Regions from separate parts of the Homo sapiens genome. Here regions 2 and 3 are each linked to region 1. Evidence: promoter capture Hi-C in 16 types of primary human blood cells and fetal thymus (Javierre and others, 2016). All regions are on one chromosome and are shown on one strand. The core of a region is centred on a gene start or on the middle of the fragment in contact, and the rest is flanking DNA. Distances in the headings are between cores, read along the strand shown.

The links. Contacts are between HindIII fragments. The CHiCAGO score rates a contact against its expected background, and 5 or more counts as called.
Region 2: a fragment that was not itself captured here is called in contact with the fragment with the promoter of KRT31 in region 1 in 1 of 17 cell types (total CD4 T cells); the score reaches 6.1 in total CD4 T cells.
Region 3: a fragment that was not itself captured here is called in contact with the fragment with the promoter of KRT31 in region 1 in 2 of 17 cell types (total CD8 T cells and total CD4 T cells); the score reaches 5.3 in total CD8 T cells.

The regions. Positions count from the first base shown.
Region 1 is chr17:41,395,958-41,399,463 of GRCh38, reverse strand. KRT31 (keratin 31) reads left to right here and starts at 1,856. Exons shown (of 7, transcript NM_002277.3): 1 at 1,856-2,272; 2 at 2,469-2,551; 3 at 2,888-3,044. The coding sequence starts at 1,925. The HindIII fragment of the contact is 10,261 bases long and covers 1-3,506 here.
Region 2 is chr17:41,107,859-41,111,364 of GRCh38, reverse strand. LOC124904002 (a long non-coding RNA gene) reads right to left here and starts at 3,133. Exons shown (of 2, transcript XR_007065754.1): 1 at 2,986-3,133; 2 at 1-1,361. The HindIII fragment of the contact is 4,149 bases long and covers 1-3,506 here.
Region 3 is chr17:41,134,081-41,137,586 of GRCh38, reverse strand. No RefSeq gene overlaps it. Among named protein-coding and RNA genes, the nearest start is that of KRTAP4-6, 4.7 kb to the left of the region's middle. The HindIII fragment of the contact is 2,780 bases long and covers 191-2,970 here.

The DNA of each region.
Region 1 (3,506 bases), core at 607-3,106:
CTCATGCCGTGCTCAGCATTTTCTTTCCTGGTGCCCAGGTCCTTGGATTTAATTACACAACCACAGAGACCTCCTTTGGTACCTTTAGACCTTTGGTTCTTAAAGCAGGTGGCATCTCCACTCGGGCTGGAGATGGGAAGCCCAGGACAGAATATGGTACATCTTCCTGATGTATCCATTTCTCTTAGAGAATTAAGCAAAGTATTTGAAAGTTTAACTGGAAATTTAAAAGGGGCTTTTTAAAAACATTAAAGCTGGCTGGGCGCGGTGGCTCACGCCTGTAATCCCAGCACTTTGGGAGGCTGAGGCGGGTGGATCACGAGGTCAGGAGATTGAGACCATCCTTGCTAACACGGTGAAACTCCATCTCTACTAAAAATACAAAAAATTAGCCGGGCGTGGTGGTGGGCACCTGTAGTCCTAGCTACTCAGGAGGCTGAGGCAGGAGAATGGCATGAATCTGGGAGGCGGAGCTTGCAGTGAGCCGAGATCGCTCCACTGCACTCCAGCCTGGGTGACAGAGCAAGACTCCATCTGAAAAAAAAAAAAAAATATATATATATATATATATATAAAGATTAAAGCCAACATGGATATATTATGGAATATAGGGTCAATTCATATGAAGTTTAAAGATCAACTACAAGTGATTTCAGGCCGTGGAGGCCCCTTTGGGCTATCTCCTGACTTTCCTAACATATCCATCTACTCTGTTCGGATACTATGGATAACCTTAGGAAATGTTTGACAAAGACCTCCTTATTCCTTTCTCTCTGCCCCTGAATATCTTTCCTAGATTATTTAAATGCATTTTTTTTGTTTTGTTTTGTATTTTGAGATGGAGTCTTGCTCTGTCACCAGGCTGGAGTGCAGTGGCACCATCTCGGCTTACTGCAACCTTCACCTCCCAGGTTCAAGTGATTCTCCTGCCTCAGCTTCCCGAGTAGCTGGGACTACAGGTGGGTGCCACCATGCCCAGCTAATTTTTTTGTATTTTTAGTAGAGATGGGTTTCACTATGTTGGCCAGGATGGTCTCTATCTCTAGACCTCGTGATCCGCCGGCCTCGGCCTCCCAAAGTATTGAGATTACAGGCGTGAGCCATTGTGCCCAGCCTTAAATGTGTTTTTTATGGCTCTCTCGGTTTGCACTTTTCAGCCTCTTTCAAAACGATCTCTTACCCCAGAAACTTCTTGTTCTCCAACTAGTTATCAAAGCCTCTACCTTTAAAATTCTCTCCTCTACAATTTTCTTAAGTAATATGTGGTGGTGGGGGGGAAGTATTACACGGACCCGTAAAACACAAATCGCTGTCTAATCTTTTCAGTCGTGTCCTCCATTGATTCTAATCATCCACCTTAAGGCTTCCAAGGCACAGAATGCTCCATCATTTGAAGATTCTTCTCTAAATGCAGAGGGAAAGACAGTCCACTGTGGCCTCTTAATGCAACTTCTTCCTCAAATCAATCCGTGTTTCTCCCTAGAAACGGCAGGTGGACCAGGACATGAGTATGTTTATGGGCCTGCAGAATTATGTGACACAAAAGAATGTCATCGGATGGATCAACACCTCAATTAATGAGGGCAGATACTTGGGCTGGACTGTGTAGCCTCTTTGAAGGCCTACCACAGAACTCTGATTTCATGGGTGGACTGTCTGCGGAGGAGTCCTGACTTAGCAAGAAGCCCAAGTAAAGAATTTTATGGGAGAAGGGACTCTTCAGAGGAAGGCAAATAACAGACTGAAGGAAAGGGCGTTTGAAAAGAAGTGAAGAAATAAAAAGAAAAAAGACATTACATACTGTGTCCACACCCTCTGCAGTGGGATATAAATGCTCCCTAGAGGAAGGAGACCCACAGCTCTGTGGCTTGGAGAATTTAGACTCTGTCTTCAGCCAGGCACTCCCTCCCTCCCTCCCAGCACTATGCCCTACAACTTCTGCCTGCCCAGCCTGAGCTGCCGCACCAGCTGCTCCTCCCGGCCCTGCGTGCCCCCCAGCTGCCACAGCTGCACCCTGCCCGGGGCCTGCAACATCCCCGCCAATGTGAGCAACTGCAACTGGTTCTGCGAGGGCTCCTTCAATGGTAGCGAGAAGGAGACTATGCAGTTCCTGAACGACCGCCTGGCCAGCTACCTGGAGAAAGTGCGTCAGCTGGAGCGGGACAACGCGGAGCTGGAGAACCTCATCCGGGAGCGGTCTCAGCAGCAGGAGCCCTTGCTGTGCCCCAGTTACCAGTCCTATTTTAAGACCATTGAGGAGCTCCAGCAGAAGGTGAGCGGCATTGCTGTCATCTCCAAGCAAGAGAGTTTGCTGTGATTCTGTCTGTGATAGAGAAGTGTGTTTCTTGCTTCTGTGCTGTCATAATTCTTGCTTCCTCTTTTATTTCAAAATGGCTTAAGTCATTTTTAAAAAGTTGATGATTTCATATTTATTTTCAGTCCTCACTAAGCCACCTCTCACTCCCCAGATCCTGTGTACCAAGTCTGAGAATGCCAGGCTTGTGGTGCAGATCGACAACGCCAAGCTGGCTGCGGATGATTTCAGAACCAAGTGAGTTGTTCGGAATTTGCACTAGTGTCAATTGCTTCTGTTTAATCTTTAAAGAAAAGGGATTTCCATCTGAAAACAGATCTACCCACTTGTTGTGAAGGATTCTGCAGAGGACTGGGGAGAACCAAGCAAAGAAATGCAAAAATGGATGAGGACTCACATCAATCTGTTTGTTTTGGGATGAATATTGGGTATTGATGGAGCCTCCAGAAACCTCTGTCTCCTGGGCCTATTCATTACAGAAAGTGGAAAGATAAGGCACATGAGGTTATCAAAAATCATTCCTGTGAGTCTTGAAGATCTACCAGGTAGTACTCTGACCCTGTCCTTGCGCAGGTACCAGACCGAGCTGTCCCTGCGGCAGCTGGTGGAGTCGGACATCAACGGTCTGCGCAGGATCCTGGATGAGCTGACCCTGTGCAAGTCCGACCTGGAGGCCCAGGTGGAGTCCCTGAAGGAGGAGCTGCTCTGCCTCAAGAGCAACCATGAGCAGGTGAGACTAGAAATGAGAAATGCACAAACCTGTCTCAGCCTCTGGCTCAGGGTTGCTTTAGTGATTTGGGGCAGCAGAATGCAGAGTATGAGTACAAGACTGAGGGTTTCCTTTGAAAACATCACGGTAAGAGAAAAATTGGAGAGAGATAAGACCTGTTCATGTTCCCAGACAGGAAACATCTTTCACTTTAAACTAGCACATTATTTGAGTTGCCCGGAGCAGCTCCATGTGCTTGCAGTTGATCAATAGTTGTAGAATGAGTCCTAGCATTGCAGTGTTATTGCTTTGTAAAGTCTTTTTTTTTTTTTTTTGGCAAAGGCCAAGAAAAAAAATATCAAACCTTATAAATGTGAGTCTCTACTCTTTCAAAGTATTGGTGAAGAGTGTTTGTGAGATTCTTCCTCTCTCTTGGGAGGGGCCATGACATGCTCTTACCTCTTACTTGACAGCAAGAGTTTT
Region 2 (3,506 bases), core at 664-3,163, 290 kb after region 1:
ATTATTTATGAAAACTGCAATAGTCATCATTTAAAGTTATGGAACTGCCATTGCAAAATTATAACTGAGACAGTGAAAAAGATCTGACCTAATTGACTCCATCTTGCTTCTAACCTCCAAACTGTTCTTGTTCAATCCTGGGCACAGGCTGAACAGACGTTGAGAGGAACATAGTTTATAGTTTACCTTTGAAACAAAGATTATAACAGTTCATTCTCAAACTAAATCTTACTGCCTGTGGACTAGACCACCAAAACCACAAAATTAGAAGTTACAGTAATCTCACTAAATTCAAGATGTGACTATTTTTATTAAACCAATATCAATGTCTTATTTATTAAAGATTATACAAGCAAAGATCATTCTATTACAGTTTTGTAACTCCATGGCAAATTTTGACACCTTATGGTATTTGACAGGGATAAGCATGAAATTGCTTGATTAATAAATGCAAACAAAAATGCATGCTGGCAATTTTTAAGACATGTCTAATATTACTTTACCAATAATTTTAAAGCTAGCTTATTTATTAAAGATTTTACTTGTTACATAAACTTCAGAAAGCATTCAACTAGTCTTTTCTTTTTTCCTGATAAAGTATTAGATTCAAGTGCTTTTTATCTTAAGCCAATTAATTAGAACTCTTTTATATATTTTCAGTAGCGAGAAATTGTGTACACATCACATAAATATATAGACATAGTAGGCATGCTGATAGAAGTACATCGTATAGATACTTAAGGAGCTTTTTTCCCCTATCTTAGGCTTTCAAATTCTTAATAACCTGTTTTACTCCCCTAGGGAGTTGTCAGCTAAATAGCCTTAAGTTTGCATGTTAAAGGAAACAACTCAGGCAAAAATCAAATAGCAAAATTATATCATAAGGTACAGAGAGAAAAAGTCTGGTGGTGCTAGAGGGAAGTCAAAATGGATTTAATTGCCAATTAAACATAAAATTATAAAAATTATAAAGGCCTTTTAAATAGATACACACACACACACACACACACACACAAACACACACACAGAAATCCTATAGCTTTTACTTCAGAACTTTAGCCATGAGACAAATACAAATTCACCAGGTTGCAAACAAAAAGCCTGTTGTATCCAAACAGTGGTTTTGATCTTAATAGAAAAATAACAGCAGATTTAAAGCAGGCAGAAAAGAAAATAGAGAAAAAAGAGAACTTAGGAACTCTGTAGTTTGTAGGTTGACCTTAAGGCTCTTCTTTTCTTTCTTTTTCTTTTCTTTCTTTCTTTCTTTCTTTCTTTCTTTCTTTCTTTCTTTCTTTCTTTCTTTCTTTCTTGCTTGCTTGCTTTCTTGCTTGCTTGCTTTCTTTCCTTCTTTTCTTTCTCTTCTAAAAAAAAATGAAATACACATGCAGGAGAACGTGCAGGTTTGTTACATAGGTATATGTGTGCCTTGGTGGTTTGCTGCACCTATTGACCCATCCTCTAAATTCCCTCCTCTCATTCCCCACCCCCCAACAGCCCCTGATATGTGTTGCTCTCCTCTCTGTGTCCATGTGTTCTCAAAGTTCAACTCCCATATATGAGTGAGAACATGTTGTATTTGGTATTCTGTTTCTGTGTTAGTTTGCTGAGGATGATGGTTTCCAGCTTCATCCATGTCCCTACAAAGGACATGATCTCACTCCGTTTTATGGCTGCATCGTATTCCATGGTGTATATGTACCACATTTTCTTTATCAAGTCTATAATTGATGGGCGTTTGGGTTAGTTCCATGTCTTTGCTCTTGTAAATAGTGCTGCAATAAACATACATGTGCCTGTGTCTTTATAGTAGAATGATTTGTATTCCTTTGGGTATATAACAAGTAATGGGATTGCTGGATCAAATGGTATTTCTGATTCTAGATCCTTGAGGAATCACCATACTGTCTTCCACAATGGTTGAACTAATTTACATGGGCCCTTTCTTTCTTAATGTAAATATGCACAAAGACCATATTACTTCCATTTTACTTAAACTCTGGCAAGTACAGGTGCCATAAAACCTATGGAGTGCTTGAAAGGGAATCATTCTCTTTGCTTTCTCCTCATTCTTAGATTATTTGTTTCCCAGTTTTCTTCTTAAAAAGAGGAACTGAGCTGAGGCCTAGAGGTTTTCTGTGGTGGATCAATATGTGCCATTTGTGGGCAGGACTCCACAGTGGGTCACCACTGAAAACAACAGTTCAGTTCCTCATGCAAATGCACACAGACAAGCTGAATTGAGCTTAATTTGGGGAGAAAAAGCAACAGAGAAGATCCTTTAGAATGCATTTGTGAACTAGAATTAGGATCTTTAAACGACAAATTCCTAGAAGGAAAACAAAACAACAGCCAAGACCACTTTTTGTAAACCTTGCTCAGCCACCCCTTAACTTTGTAGCTCTCATCTACCACTATACACAACAAGGTCAAAGCCAAAGAGGTCAGGTCATGCAATACAGGAAAATAGAGGTTTAGAGTTAAGAAGAATCTACCCATGACTCTTGAAACTCCACAAAGAAAACAAAACACCCCAAAAGGGGTGAGTGGCAACCTTTGTTCTGAATTCTTTAAGGGGGTTCAAGTCATTAGAAGCCTTCTCTAGACTTTTTGGTACTGCATATGGCAAAGGGGGAGGAGGTATATGGTGCAAGAAAAGTAAACGAAAGAACATTCGTGTTTTAAGACAGGAAGCAAACACAGAAACCAAGTGCATGGGTTTTTGGTTCTTTTTGTTTGTTTTCTTCTTTTGCAGCTGCAATGAATTTTAGCCAAATTAGAGAGGTTTTGTTACCCGTAATTTTGAATTCTCACTTGGATTTGACCAAGTCAGGTAGAGTTGGTCAAGTCTGATGGGAGAAAGACCAAAACAAACAACAAAATCTCCAACCATAGGATTACCAAGCACTCTAATGATAAGGAGAAATTAAGAGCAGCTAGCTGGTTGTTAAACTTTAGCCCAGACAAAGCCCCAGTTCAGCTACTTACCTAGGGATGGGTCTCAGGCTGAAGGCTGCTTTCTACCACCCTAGAAGCAGGAAAAAAACTCAAACTGGTCTTCCCTGCTGGGAGTGAGCTCAAACTCTACATGCCTTTCATCATCATGGAAGCAGGAAATCTTGCCTTCCTTGTAAAGGAAGTAAAAGTAAATCTTGCCTTCCTTATAAGGAAGGCAAGTAAGCAAGTAAAACTCCAAAAACAAAAATAGGTGGGGCAGTTGTACAGCAAAATGAACTTTAGTTCTTCACCAAATTTGGGGAGATCAGGGATTCTTTGGGGAGGGTGCTCCCAGACCTCAGCAAATTGTCCTATTGATTTGAGCCATAAAGTTAGCTCATGCTATTACCAGGCACCAACAGGATATTCGTCAAAGGTCAAGGGCATCTCCACTCAGAATCCTTTCACAGTTACCAAAATGTTAACCCAGAAAATCTGAGACAGGTCTCAGTTAATTGAGAAAGTTTATTTTGCTAAGGTTGAGGATGCTCCGGTGACACAGCCTCAGGAAG
Region 3 (3,506 bases), core at 331-2,830, 260 kb after region 1:
AACAGAGCCAAGGATGATCTATATACAGGTACTAACACTGACTTTAGAATACTTACAATTAATATGTTTGAAATAATAGATTAAAAATGTAAATTTTATTAAAGAAGTAGAATCTATTTTTAAAAAGTTCAGTAAAAATTCTAGAACCAAAAAACTCAAAAACTGAAATTAAGAATTCAATAAATAAGCTTAACAGAAGATTAGACAGGAGAGAGGAACAGCAAAATGGAAGTAGAAAATATTCACATTGGAATGCAGAGAGAAGAAAAGTTTTAAAATGGAGAAAATAGCATAAGACACACTTGGAGCATAGTGAAAAGTCTAACATACATGTAAATTGGAGTCCCAGAAAGAGAGAAGAGAGAATGGAGAAGTTATAAACAAAGAGATACTGGATGGCAATTTGAGACAATTGATGACAGACCTCCAGTCACAGATTCTAGAACATCTCTGAACCCAAGCAGAGTGAATAAAAAGAAAAACAACATGTAGGCACATCAAGGAAAGTTGTTGAAAACCAAAGATAAAAAGAAAATCATAAACGTAACAAGAAATGGATACAGCCATTATAGAAAACAGTATGGAAGTTTCTTTGAAAATTACAATAGGTCTGCCATATAAAATCTAGCAATTCCACTTCTAGGTATATATCTGAAGGTAAAAAATCAGTATCCTGGAGTTATCTGCACCTCATGTTTACTGCAACATTATTCTCAATAGCCAGGATATGGATTCAGTATGTGTCCATTAAAGGATGAATGGAGATATATATATATATATATACACACATATATATACACACACACACACACATACACACACACATCATATATAATAATATTAATATATGTTAAAGCATACATATAAAGAAATATTATTCAGCTTTAAAAAAGGAAATTCTGCCATTTGTGACAAGATGGATGAGCCTGGAGGATACTATGTTAAGTGAAATAAGGCAAACACGGAAGGAAAAGTACTGCATGATGTCACTTATATGTGGAACCTTAAAAAAAGTGAAACTCACAAAAGCAGAGAGTAGAATGGTGGTTATTAGGGGCAGGAAGGTGAGGGAAATTAGAAGATATCTGTCAAAGGGTACAAGGTTCCAGTTATGTAGAATGAATAAATTCTAAAAATTTAATGTACAGCATGGTGACTACAGTTAATAATACTGTACTGTATGCTTGAAACTTGCTAAGAGAGTAGATGTTAAGTGTTTTCACACACACACACATGCACACACACACACACACAAAGGCAACTAACTATGTGAGGCAATGAATATGTTGATTATCTTGCCTTTAGTAATCATTTTACAATGTATATCAAAACATTGTATTGTACACCTTAAATTATATATATATAATTTTATAATAAAATAATAAAATAAGTAAAAGCAACAGGGGAAAAAACAACATACACTTTTACAAAAAGAACAGGAAGCCTAAAACTCAACTGAAATAATGGAAGTGAGAAGACGATGAAGAGACATCTTGTGAAGGGAAACACTGCCGATAGAGAATTATATGCCCAGAGAAACAAAAAAGATAATGAAATTAAGTTATTTTCAGGAAAACAGAAATGAGAGAATAGGTTAACAGAAAACTTTGCCAAAAGAAAAAGACTAGGCCAGGAGCTGTGGCTAACGTCTGTAATCCCAGCAGTTTGGGAGGCCGAGGTGGGTGGGTCACTTTGAGGTCAGGAGTTGGAGACCAGCCTGACCAACATGGAGAAACCCCATCTCTAGTAAAAATACAAAACTTAGCTGGGCATGGTGGCAGGCGCCTGTAATCCCAGCTACTCAGGAGACTGAGGTGGAAGGATTGCTTGAACCCAGGAGGCAGAGGTTGCAGTGAGCTGAGATTGCACTACTGCACTCCAGGCTGGGCGACAGAGCAAGACTCTGTTTCAAAAAATAAAAATAAAAACAAAAACAAAAAACAAAAGAAAGGCTTCAAGTAAAAGGAAAGTGATAGGAAGGATGGTCCCAACAAAGGGTAATTCTACATTGTTCTTTTCCAAATCAGTCATTTTCTATATTCCATTTCTTCATTATGATTTTCATTTTTAAATTTTTATTTAATATACTTTAAGTTCTGAGATACATGTGCAGAACGTGCAGGTTTGTTACATAGGTATACACGTGCCATGGTGGTTTGCTGCACTCATCAACCCATCGCCTAGGTGTTTTTTTTTTTTTTTTTTTGAGACAGAGTCTTGCTCTATCACCAGGCTGGAGTGCAGTGGCCCGATCTCAGCTCACCGCAACCTCCACTTCCTGGGTTCAAGCAGTTCTCCCGCTTCAGCCTCCCAAGTGGCTGGGACTATAGGTGCACACAGCCATGCCCAGATAATTTTTGTATTTTTGGTACAGACGGGGTTTCACCATGTTTGCCAGGATGATCTCGATCTCCTGACCTCGTGATCTGCCCATCTCAGCCTCCCAAAGTGCTGGGATTACAGGCATGAGCCACTGCACCCTGCCCATCATCTAGGTTTTAAGCCCCACATGCATTAGGTATTTGTCCTAATGCTCTCCCTCCCCTTGCCCCCAACCCCCCGATTTCCATTTTTTGTTTACCTTTTAAACCCATTTATATATAGTCTCCTTCAGAATTTTCAGTTATCTCAATTCCCAGGGGTTATATTCCCTTTTCCTGTGTCTACTATACTACTCATGATAAATTATTTTCTTACATATTTTGTAATATTTGCCTATGCATTTATCTTATGCAGAAATTGACCCCTGTGGGGGATCCCATGCAATCTGTGTGTGGTTTCTTAGAGGTTTATTTTTCCTTGTGCTTAATGCTTTTTTATTTTTATATTTTTTTCTTTTTGGGGTGTTCTTTCTGTGTGCTATTCCTTTTGCTTTTGTTTCTGATTATTTCAAGGACATGCACTATTTAGTATCAGCAGTTTCTCACCTTGAGGTTCCTCCACTATGCATACAGTGTGAATTAAGAAGCTTGGTGATATTGCATGGTTTAGTTGTTCATGACTTTATTACCACATAAAATTCCTGTAGGCAGACTAAGGTTTTCTTGTCTCCATCTTATGCACAAAAATGCTTTCAGAATGTAAACCTTAAGTTTACATTCTTCTCTTTTGACATCAAAGGGATCTTGGCATCATGAGAACAATCTGCCCAAACAGCGTTCTTAAGAATATAAACTTTATATAAGGGTCTTACTTCCTAGATCCTGCCTGGTGATAGTTTCAGGTCCCATTTCTTGTACCTGCCTGAGTTTTAACCACCAGCCTCCAGTTCTGAGGGCATCTAACTGGATGCCAAACCTTCCCACAGGCCACAGGACATCAGCTAGTGTTTGCCATTTGAGTTCCCTCTTAGTTTCTGACAAATGAGAATTTTTCTCTACTTTTCTCAAGTTCAACTACGATTGAATTTTTTAAAAAATCTTTGAAGAATTTATACTTACTCATACCAGGAAGTGGGTCTGTCAGTATCAACTCAGTCAGCTACATTGCCAGAAGTTCTTTATTTT